Linked DNA regions of Homo sapiens: region 2 is linked to region 1. The links are contacts of gene promoters, found by promoter capture Hi-C in blood cells and fetal thymus (Javierre and others, 2016). All regions are on one chromosome and are shown on one strand. The core of a region is centred on a gene start or on the middle of the fragment in contact, and the rest is flanking DNA. Distances in the headings are between cores, read along the strand shown.

Evidence for each region. The method cuts DNA at HindIII sites, captures the fragments that hold promoters and counts their contacts. A CHiCAGO score of 5 or more calls a contact.
Region 2: a fragment that was not itself captured here is called in contact with the fragment with the promoter of ELAVL3 in region 1 in 1 of 17 cell types (erythroblasts); the score reaches 6.5 in erythroblasts.

Annotation. Positions count from the first base shown.
Region 1 is chr19:11,478,844-11,484,216 of GRCh38, reverse strand. ELAVL3 (ELAV like RNA binding protein 3) reads left to right here and starts at 3,171. Exons shown (of 7, transcript NM_001420.4): 1 at 3,171-3,617. The coding sequence starts at 3,609. ZNF653 (zinc finger protein 653) reads left to right here. Exons shown (of 9, transcript NM_138783.4): 8 at 76-175; 9 at 358-788. The coding sequence ends at 535. RefSeq lists silencers at 1,365-1,804, 1,835-2,084, 4,459-4,653. The HindIII fragment of the contact is 20,383 bases long and covers 1-5,373 here.
Region 2 is chr19:11,364,181-11,369,553 of GRCh38, reverse strand. It overlaps PLPPR2 (phospholipid phosphatase related 2), which reads right to left. Exons shown (of 10, transcript NM_001393892.1): 9 at 5,342-5,373; 10 at 3,856-5,207. The coding sequence ends at 4,864. Among named protein-coding and RNA genes, the nearest start is that of SWSAP1, 7.8 kb to the left of the region's middle. The HindIII fragment of the contact is 4,852 bases long and covers 1-4,626 here.

The DNA.
Region 1 (5,373 bases), core at 1,922-4,421:
TAGCATCAGAGTCTGCAGCACATCAGAGACACCCCATAGCCCACCGTCCTCAGCCTCGGTCCCCACCGCCCCCAGGTGTCCGTGAATTCACCTGCGAGACCTGCGGCAAGTCCTTCAAGAGGAAGAACCACCTGGAGGTACATCGGCGCACCCACACCGGCGAGACCCCCCTGCAGTGAGTGACAGGCCGCCCCGTGCCGCTAGAGGATTGGGTGGGAGGGGATCCCAGCAGGTCCCAGGGGCGGCTTCGCCCCAACGCAGTGTCTGGGCCCGGTTCCACCTGCGCTCGGCCTTGTAGGGCCCCGCCCCGCCCCGCCCACTCTGACCCCGCCCCGTCCCGCCACGGGCTCCCGGCAGGTGCGAGATCTGTGGCTACCAGTGCCGGCAGCGCGCGTCGCTCAACTGGCACATGAAGAAGCACACTGCGGAGGTGCAGTACAACTTCACGTGCGATCGCTGCGGGAAGCGCTTCGAGAAGCTGGACAGCGTCAAGTTCCACACGCTCAAAAGCCACCCGGATCACAAGCCCACCTGACCCACCTGACCACTGACCGCCCCTATTTATTCGTCCGCTCGGACACCACGCCCGGGCTTGCCGGGGCCTGGACAGCTGCGAGGGCCGCCCGGACCGCGGGCCGGAAGGAGGCGCCCCCGCCCCGCCCCAGAGCTGGGCCCCCTGGGCAGGTTCCCCACCCCGCCCCACCGCATCCTTCTCGGAGCTGGTGCCTGGGGCTGCATTGCTGGAACTGTGTCAAGAGAGCAGAGTGAGATTAAAGAGCGAGAAAGGAGATGCCCTTCCCCTAGGCCTGAATGATTTGGGGTGCCAGGCCCCTCTCTGTCTCCAGCCTACTTGATCCCTTCCTAAGCGAGGCAGGGAACGAGGGATGCCCCTGGGCCCAGCAGCCTCGCACAGCCCCTGCTCCCACAGGATGGGGTGAGGCTTGGGGGTCTGGGGTCTCTGGGCATCTCCCGGAACTCAGGACCCTAATTTCCACTTCCTCCTGTTTTATGGGGCACCCATCTCCCACCCTCAGTGAGCTCCGGGATGAGATGGGGAGGTGTTCAGTAAACCCCTAAAATGAGAAACATTTGCAGCTAGCGACAAGCGCCATGCAAAAGAGAGAGTGATGCGTTGTTTTCCGGGGATGCTGTTTAGGTCGGTGGTCAGGGAGGGCCTCTGAGGAGGTGGCATTTGCGCATAGACCAGAATGACAAAGATCTATCCCAGAAGAAAGCTGGGGGAGGAAATTCTCAGGCCAGAGGAACAACCAGTGCCAAAACCCCGAGGTAGAACTAGCTCGGCGTGTTCCTAAAACAGGAAGCCGCGGGGGGAAGGGGAGTTGGCGGCGGCTGCCCTGGCCCCATTTCCCGGAGGAGGATGCTGAGGCCGCCGCCTCCTGCGGGCCGCTAGAGAGAGGGGCGGGGAGCGAGGCGCGGCCGCTAGGTGGCGTGCGAGGCGCGTAGGCCCTGGTGGCCGCAGCCACGTGACCCTGGGGACCGCAGCCGCGAGCTCAGGCACGTGCCCGGGGGAGCCCTGTGGCGCCACGCGCAGATTGGCCCCGCCGGTTCCTCACCAGTTCGGGGGATGAGGCGGGGCCCCAGCTATGCCTCAGTTCCTGCTGCGGACCGGGGGGCTACCCCAGCCGGGGACAGAAGAATCGGCAAGGATGAGCGAGTCCGGCCGCTGGGGCCGCCCCCGCGAGCTCCCTCCCCCCGCGAGGCAGGTCCCCTCCACTCTCCCCGCACTGCCGGAGCCGGCAGGTTTCCATGGGAACCGCAGCGGGGTCCGCGCGCCCAGGAGCAGCCCCCCTCCTAGCTCAGTTTCCGATGACGGAAACCGGGAGGAACACGGGGTGGGGAACAGACCATCGCTTGGGGCCCCTAGCGCCCGCAGCCAGGTCGCCCCGGCGAGCCCAAGAGGGGCCACCCGGGGATCTGCACCGCCACCGCCCCTATTGCGCGGGCCACTGCGATTGGCCTGCCCTTTCCAGGCGTGGCAGCATCCCCTGGTGCGCGCACTCCCATTGGCTCGATCTCTAGGGCATCTTCCAGTAACTGGTTATCTCAAGGGCCGCCCCTGATTGGGCAAATTAGGCTCTCCTCGCTGGTGGCGCTCTCTGACAGTCTGGAGCCTAAAGGGCGTGCAGGAACGAGGATTGGGTGGGGACTGCCGCTCTCCAGTTAGGGGGTCTGGGCTACCTCGCCGGCAGCGCCCTCGACCGGACTGTCGGATTGCTGTCTGTGGTGCTGAAGCCTCACGCCCTGGCGACCCCGCCCCAGTGTGTGCTAGTTCCCGCGCCCCGACGTAAACATGCACCGGCGCCCGCGCACCAAAGGAGGCTGCGCCACCCCCAACGCCTTAGAGAGAGGCCAGGTTCCCCCTAGCAGAGAGCGAGCATGACTCCACAGTCAGGAGGACCAATCACGAGCCTAGAAAGCCAGGACATTTATGTGGCAGATCCACCCACCCCAGTTCTGTGGGGTCCAAGAAGGATCCGTGGTTTCCCAGAGCTGCATGGCTCCAGCGATGATTGTCCAGAACACTGAGCCCCAAACCTTTTCACCCCCTTCGGAGCAGTGCGGAGTTTCCTTGCACTGGGGAGTGCCAGTCCTTACCTTTTGAACCCTAGAAGGATCCAGCTCACTCAAAACCAACAGCGTCCCAGTCTCCTTCTGCAGAAGACTAGGGCCACAGTAGCCACCCTCCCCCGTGGTCTTGAGGTGGTCTACACTGGTGCCTCCAAATCTGGGGACCCAGGCCTCTGCCTACTAAAATATTGGTTCCTGATCCCCTGTCCAGTTCCCTCAGTGGACAACACCTCTGGAAGGTCGCATATTCAGGCCACTAATACCTCCTCGCTCTGTTGGCTCCTCCAGCTCTAGGAGCTGGACGGAGGAGGGGAGCCCGTCTCCTGGCCCGAAAGCCAGCCCAAGAAGGGGTGCCAGGGTAGGAAGCAAGGGCCTCGAGGGAAGGAGGGCCCAAATCTGGCAACCCGAGCACCTAGGATGCGCTTTTGGGGGATTCAGAGTCCCGACCAGTGCGCGCTCACTTCCACCTGCCGCGCCGTCGGGAGCCGCGAGGAGGCGGAGCTCGGTCGCCGCAGCCAATGAGCGACGCCGGCGCTGGCAGCTGCTGCTATAAAGGGCTGGGGGCGGCGGCGGCGCGGTCCAGAGCGCGGAGCGCGCAGCGCGGGCCGGAGGGAGGGAGGGAGGGTGGGCGAGGGGAGAGGACTTGAACACACGGGACCGGACAGGACCGACCGAGGGGCGGCGGCGAAAGGCAGAGCGCCGCGATCTCTGTCGGGAAGCGCAACCTCCCCGGGCCCCGCGGGGCCGCGCAGGGGGCGTCCTCAACCCCGCGCCCGCTCCCTCTTTCCATCCCCTGCCGCCCGCAGGCCACCCCGGGGCCCGGCCATCCGCGCGCGCATCCCCGGGTTCGGGCCCGTCCCTGGCCCTCGAGGGAGCCGCCGCCTTCATCGCCACATCTGCAGCGGCCGCACCAGAGGCCGCCCGGGCGGGACCCCAGCGTGAGCATCGGGCGCCCCCCTAGGAGTGCACCACCCCCGGAGCCCCCCTCAACACGGACCGCGCCCGCCGGGCACACAAGAATGGTCACTGTAGGTATTCCCCTGTCGCCGAAAGGGAATCGGGACGGGGAGGAGTTGGGCCCAGGCTCCGCGGAGATTGGGCGGGTGCGGCGGGGGGGGTAGGACCAGGCCTAGCTAGGCCCGGGTTGGGGGGGTAGGACCAAGCCTCGGGGCCTGAGAGTGGGCAGGGCCGCGCCCAGAGTGCTGAGGGCGCTTAGAGCTTGGTCTGAGAGGGCCTTAGGGAGACTGACTGCGATTCGGGAGGCGTCCGACGCCGCCCTGGAGGCGGGATTGCCCCCTCTCCAGCAGGCCTGATGGGGGAGGGGCCGCGGCGGCTAAGGATGCTTCCTCCATCCAGGCCCAGACCCCGCAGGCCGCCCAGGCAAACGCAGGGCCCGATCACTGGTGCTGGGCCAAGCCAAAGCGACAAAGCGTCCCCGAGAGCCCTGGGAAAGCGGGTGGCGTCGGATCGCGCGCCCCGGGCCTCGGCCGCACCCGGGAGGCGGGCGTCTCGTCCTCGAGCCCGTCGACCTTGCGGCAAGCGGGGAGGGGAGAGGAGGGGGCGCGCCCGGAGGCCCCGCGGGCCCGCCGCCGCTGCTGCCGCGTCCCTTTGTTTCTCGGCGCTTCTTCGCGGGCCGCAGCCTCGCGCGGGCGCCTCGGGCTGCGGGGAGGGGGAGGGGAGAGGAGGGCCCGCGGGTTGGGGGGGCACCTCTGGGCTCCCGGGTCTCCGCCCCCCGGGAGATGGGGTGGGAGGCCGAGACAGCCCCCTTAGGCCAGGTCCAGGCTCCCCACCTCGCCAAGGCTCTGGGCCGCGAGGTGACCTTGAGCGCGGCCCGCCCGCCTGCTCGCCCGCACCGCTAGCCCCGCGCTCGGTGCTTTCAGCAGCCACGGAGCTGGTCAGCTCCCGAGCGCGCAGCCCCTCCCGCCCTGCCACGCCCTGCCTGGCCACGCCCGGGCACGCCCATCTAGGCCCCGCCCCCAGGGCCCCGGGGGCCCGGCCTCGCCCGAGCCCTCGGATTCCCACTCGGCAGCCCGGGCGTATCCCGGGGGCGGGGCTGGCCAGTTATAGCCCCACCCCGGCTCCACCCCCGCCCCTGCCGCGCGACTCCGCTCCCCGCGCCGCCGCGCGTCCTTTGTCTGGTCCCGGCGCCTGGGCCTCCCTCTTCCACTCTTCCTATCTCTCCGTCTCTGCGTGTGTGTCTCTGTGCATTGTGTCTCTTTCCGGGCCCCTTTTTCGAGTCGTGGCTAGCACTGGGGGTGGGGGCATGATTGGCGCTCCCTCCATGCCTAAGCCTCTCCCCTCCTGGACCCTGGGACCCGCCCACCTGGCTCTGAGAAATGAGGTCCCGGAGGCCTGGCTCACCTGCTGTGTGACCTCAGGCCGTTCCTTTCCCTCTCTGGGCCTCGTGCTGTTCACCCAGGTCTGGGAACTGGAGTGTGGCCTCCTGAGGACCTCAGAACTCCCGCAACAGTCCAGCATCTCCTAAGCGTCCTCTGATCGGTTCTCTCATTTGAAAAAGGAAACTAATGCACAAAGGGAAAGAGGGTGTGGTCAGAGGTCACACAAGGGCCTTGAGGACCTAGGTTCTCCAGTGAGCGAGCCCTGGGGCAGAGATGTATCATGGGGACAGGCTGGGAGGAAGAGAGGTGACAAATTAAGACCAGGAGGACCCTGCATTGAAGAAGGGCCCAGAAGTAGGAGGCTCAGTCAGCACCACGTGGTAGCCCAGCCTCACCATGCATAGCCACTCAATGCCCTATTGTCGCCGGTATCCAGGCATCTGTC
Region 2 (5,373 bases), core at 951-3,450, 110 kb after region 1:
TCTTCTGTCTCCTCCTTGCTCACCCTGTGCCAACTACTACACAGGCCACTTTGCTGTTCCCTGAACACAGAAGGCATGTTCCCACCTCAAGGCTTTCGCACTTGCTCTTCCCTTTGCCTAGAGGTCTCCCCACCACATATTTGCATGGCTCCCTCCCTCCCAGTGTCATCTCAGAGAAAACTTCCTTGATCACTTTTTTAAAAATTGCAAACCATAGCCCAGGCATGGCAGCTCACCCCTTTAATCCCAGCATTTTGGGAGGCCGAAGTGGGAAGATCGCTTGAGCCCTGAAGTTGAAGACCAGCCTGGGGAATATAGTAAGACATTGTCTTTACTAAAAATTTAAAAAATTAGCAGGCATGGTGGTGTGTGCCTGTAGTCCCAGCTACTTGGGAGGATCACTGGATCGCTGGATCCCAGAAGTTTAAGGCTGTAGTGAGCTATGATCATGCCACTGCATTCCACTCGTCGCTCAGCCTAAGCAACAAACAGAGCGAGACCCTCCCTCTCTCTTAAAAAAATTGCAAACCATGTCCCTATCCCACACTTGTCACATCGGCTTCCTTAGCTTGAGTGTTCTCCTTATCACATATCGATATCTAACATATCAGAGATCCCTTAGCTAAATCCATGATCCTGGAGTTGGAAATTCAGGATTTTTCAGATTTTAAAAAAGTAATAGGGTATAAATACTATGTATTTCATACCCCTGGTGGGACCAGGAGTAAAATCCTCAAGTCACTTTATCTTCAGCAAAACACAAGAATATTCACATCAAGTGAAATAAATAAAAGCTATATATAATCTCAGGTCAGTTCAGGTTAGGTTTTGCCATAAATGAGTTATGAAAGGATTTTGGTTTTCAGACTTCTTTTTCTTTTTTGAGACAGAGTCTCACTCTGTCACCCAGGCTGGAGTGCGGTGGTGTGATCTCAGCTCACTGCAACCTCTAACTCCCGGGTTCAAGCGATTCTCCTGCTTCAGCCTCCCTAGTAGCTGGGATTACAGACGTGTGTCACCACACCTAGCTAATTTTTGTATTTTTAGTAGAGACAGGGTTTCACCATGTTGGCCAGGCTGGTCTTGAATTCCCGACCTCAGGTGATCCGCCCACTTCAGCATCCCAAAATGCTGGGATTACAGGTGTGAGCAACTGCGCCTGGCCTGGTTTTCAGACTTCTATAAAAATTTGGAATTGTGAATCTGTATATAGCTCGTTTATTTTTATATTTATTAATTTGTGTATTTATTTATCCAGAGACATGGTCTTGCTCTGTCACCCAGGCTACAGTGCAGTGGCATCATCACAGCTCACGACAGTCTCGACTTCCTGGGCTCAAGGGACTCCCATCTCAGCCTCCTGCATAGCCGGGACTACAGGTACGCACCAACATGCCCAGCTAATTTTAAAATATATATATATATATATATTTGAACAGACGGGGGTCTCACTATGTTGCCCAGGTCATTCTCCAACTCCTAAGCTCAAGCAATCCTCTGGCCTTGGCCTCCCAAAGTATTGGGATTACAGGTGTGGAGACCAGGCCCCATTTACCTTGTTTGTTGTCTTACATATTAGAACGCTCACATCCGTGACAGCAGAGGTTTGTGTCTGTTGTTTACTGCTGTAACCTCCCCCTGCCACAACCCCCACCCTGTGCCTAACTAAACAGCACCTGTGCTTTGGTCTGAATGTTTGTGCCCCTTCCCCCGGTTCATATGTTGAAATCCTAACCCACAGTGATAGGAGGTGGGGGCCTTTTAAAGGTGATTAGGTCATAAGGGTGGAGTCCTCATGAATGGGATTAGTGCTCTTATAAAAGAGGCCCCAGAGAGCTTCTCCACCTTCTGCCATGTGAGACTAGAGTGAGTCTATGAGGAAGCAGGCCCTCACTGGCCACCGAATCTGCTGGGGCCTTGATCTTGGACTTCCCAGCCTTCAAAACTGTGAGCAATAAACTTCTGTTAGGCCAGGGGTGGTAGCTCATGTCTGTAATCCCAGCACTTTGGGAGGCTGGGGTGGGTGAACCACTTGAGCCCAGGAGTTCAAGACCAGCCCGAGGAACATGGCACAACCCTGTCTCTATTAAAAAAATAGGCCAGGTATAGCGGCTCATGCCTATAATCCCAGCACTTTGGGAGGCTGAGGCAGGCAGATCACAAGGTCAGGAGTTCGAGACCACCCTGGCCAATACGGTGAAACCCCATCTCTACTGAAAATACAAAAATTTGCCGGGCGTGGTGGTGGGTGCCTGTAATCCCAGCTACTTGGGAGGCTGAGGCAGGAGAATCGCTTGAACCCAGGAGGCAGAGGTTGCAGTGAGCCGAGATCGTGCCATTGCACTCCAGCCTGGCGACAGAGCAAAACTCCATCTTAACAAAAAAAGACACACACACACAATAAAAATAAGGCAGGCGCAGTGGCTCATGCCTGTAATCCCAGCACTTTGGGAGGCTGAGGCAGGCAGATCACAAGGTCAGGAGATCGAGACCATCCTGGCTAACACGGTGAAACCCCGTCTCTACTAAAAATACAAAAAATTAGCTGGGCGTGGTGGTGCGCACCTGTAGTCCCAGCTACTCAGGAGGCTGAGTGAGGCAGGAGAATCGCTTGAACCTGGAAGGTGGAGGTTGCGGTGAGCCGAGGTCGCACCACTGCACTCCAGCCCAGGTAACAGAGCGAGACTCCGTCTCAAAATAAATAAATAAATAAATCAGAAATTTATTGTTATTATTATTATTATTTTTTTTTTGAGACAGAGTCTTGCTATGTCCCCCAGGCTGGAGTGCAGTGGCACGATCTCGGCTCACTGCAAGCTCCACCTCCCGGGTTCATACCATTCCCCTGCCTCAGTCTCCTGAGTAGCTGGGACTACAGGCGCCCGCCACCACACCCAGCTAATTTTTTGTATTTTTAGTAGAGACGAGGTTTCACCCTGTGAGCCAGGATGGTCTCAATCTCCTGACCTCGTGATCCACCCTTGTCGGCCTCCCAAAGTGCTGGGATTACAGGCGTGAGCCACGATGCCCAGCCAAGAAATTTATTTTTTAATAATTAGTAGAGGAATTTAATAGTAGTAGAGAAATTTATTTTTTAATAATTTAATAAATAAGCCATCCTGTCCATGGTATTTTGTCACGGCAGCTGGAACAGACTAAGACCATCTAGCACACAGTAGGGGTTCTACAGTGTTTGCTTAATGAATGAGTGAATTAATTAAGGAGAGAAGGGAAACAGACTCCCTTTTCCTGGTTCCTGAGTGACTCTGGGTCCCAAATGCCCTGTCTGAAAGCCCTCAGAGCCACAATTGAGGGAGGGGTCCTGTGGCTCCCTCTCCCTGACCCTTTGAACATCCCCAGTATCTGCTGAGTTCTCAGGGGGGTTGGGTCTTGGTGTAATCTCATACTCAGCACCCCTGTTCTCATCCACACAGCCAGGTGTTCCACTTGGAGGTTCTTAGTGCCCCTCAGCATCCCCCATCCCTCTCAGGACCCCCAAGTATCCTCACCCCATTCCTTGTGCCCTCTGTGCCCTGGCCTGAGACACACAGGGCATGTACGGCTCCTGATGTGGGTTTGTGTGCCTTGGTAGCTTGAGTGACTGTTTGCCTTTGATAGATGAAGAAACAAGGGCACAGAGAGGTGAATGAACTTTTCTGAGGCCACAGAGCCCAGAATGCTGAGCCAGGATTTCAGCCCAAGTCTGAAGCTCCATGAAACCGGGCTGCCTTTCCACAATTGTCCTTAGATACACTGCGGCAACACACCCACACCCAGCTCCACAGACATCTAGACCCACGATGAATGTCCTCCGCACCCCCCCACCACCCGGGGGAGGAAGGCAGATGGCCAAACTTCTGTTACAAACAGGTCTTTATTAAAGATGAGAAGCCAGGTCTTTATTAAAGATGAGGAGGGGGCAGGAAAGGGGGGCAGTGCCTCCTCTACCCACTGCCTTTGCCTGCCCGGGGTGAGGGAGCCCCTCTGCTCCACCCATGCCCCCCATGATGGCACATCTGTATGAGGCTGAGGCATGGGGGGCAGTGTGAAGAACAGGGGCAGGTTCCAAGAAAAAGAAGAAAAACCCTTCCCACAGCCCTAATAAATAACAGAAGGGTTTGGGATGACCTGGGCACAGGCAAGGGGAGACACAGCACCCTGAACCCCAAAACCTCTGAAGTGGGGCAAGCCCTACTTAAGTAGGGGATTAGGAGAGAGTGGGTGAGAGGTGGAGAGGCCGCACACAGGGAGGGGCTGAGAGGAAAAGGGGTACCCCAAGGACCCTGCCATGGGGGAGCCTGCCCCCCACCCTACAGCTGGGCTCGCTGATTCTGAGAGAAGACTCAATGACAAACAATGACCTCATCTCCCTCCTCTCCTTTGCACATGCTTAGACACGGGCGGTCCCCCATTGACTGGAATCATGCCCACCCACTCTAGAAATTCTGGAAACCAAGGGCTCCTATTGGCTGTTCAGTCGCTGAACACTGGCTGGAGTTGCCCTCTTGCAGGAGGATTCTAAGAAGTGAGGGGAAGGCTCCCATTGGTTGGAGCCAACTCCTTTTGGTTAAAATTCTGAGAACCAGGGGTTCTCATTAGCCAGGCAATGGCCAATGGGGTCAAGCTTTGGCCCTTAAAAGGGCAATAGTAGGGGCAAGTGCGCACCTTCCATTTGTGCCCATCGGGATATCTCAGAGGGCCAGAGAGGCAGATGTCTCCTAAATGTCCTTCTAGCCATCTTCTAATGTCTGGGTCTGGCTGGCTTGGGGGGCAGGGGACTTTGGCACTCACGTGGCACACGCACACACACGCGTGGCAGGGAAGAAGTGGGGACTGGGCAGATTCTGGGTGGGTGGTCGGGCCTCACAGCAGGTGGTCACGGCTGGCAAACAGGTAAGGGCTGAAGTTGTCCCGGTGGAAGGGGGAGGGATAGAGTCCACTCAGGGTGTACAGGTCCCGCAGCAGGGGCGTGGGCAGCAGCAGCTTCCGGCCACGTCCACCACCCCCGCCTGGCCCCCCAGGTCCAGGGGAGGAAGGCGAGGGGCCCTGGCTGGGGGTGGGCGCTGGCAGGGGTAGGGGCAGGGGCAAGGGCGTCGGCTCAGACCTCAATCGAGGACGGGGCACACGGGGCGACGAACACATGGCTGGGGCCCTGGAGGAGACACAGCTGGGGATCAGGTGGCCACGGCGGGCGCAGTTCTGCGACTCTGGTGGTCAGAAGCCAGATATCAGGGGATCAGAAAACTCGGGAGGCAGCATAAAGGCCTAGGTGAGACCTCTGGGGCAGTGGCTGCCCACCTGGAAGTCCCCCTGTTTAGCCCCCCACTCCCCCAACACTCACTGGATGGGGTGAGCCGTGCCGGTGTCGAATGC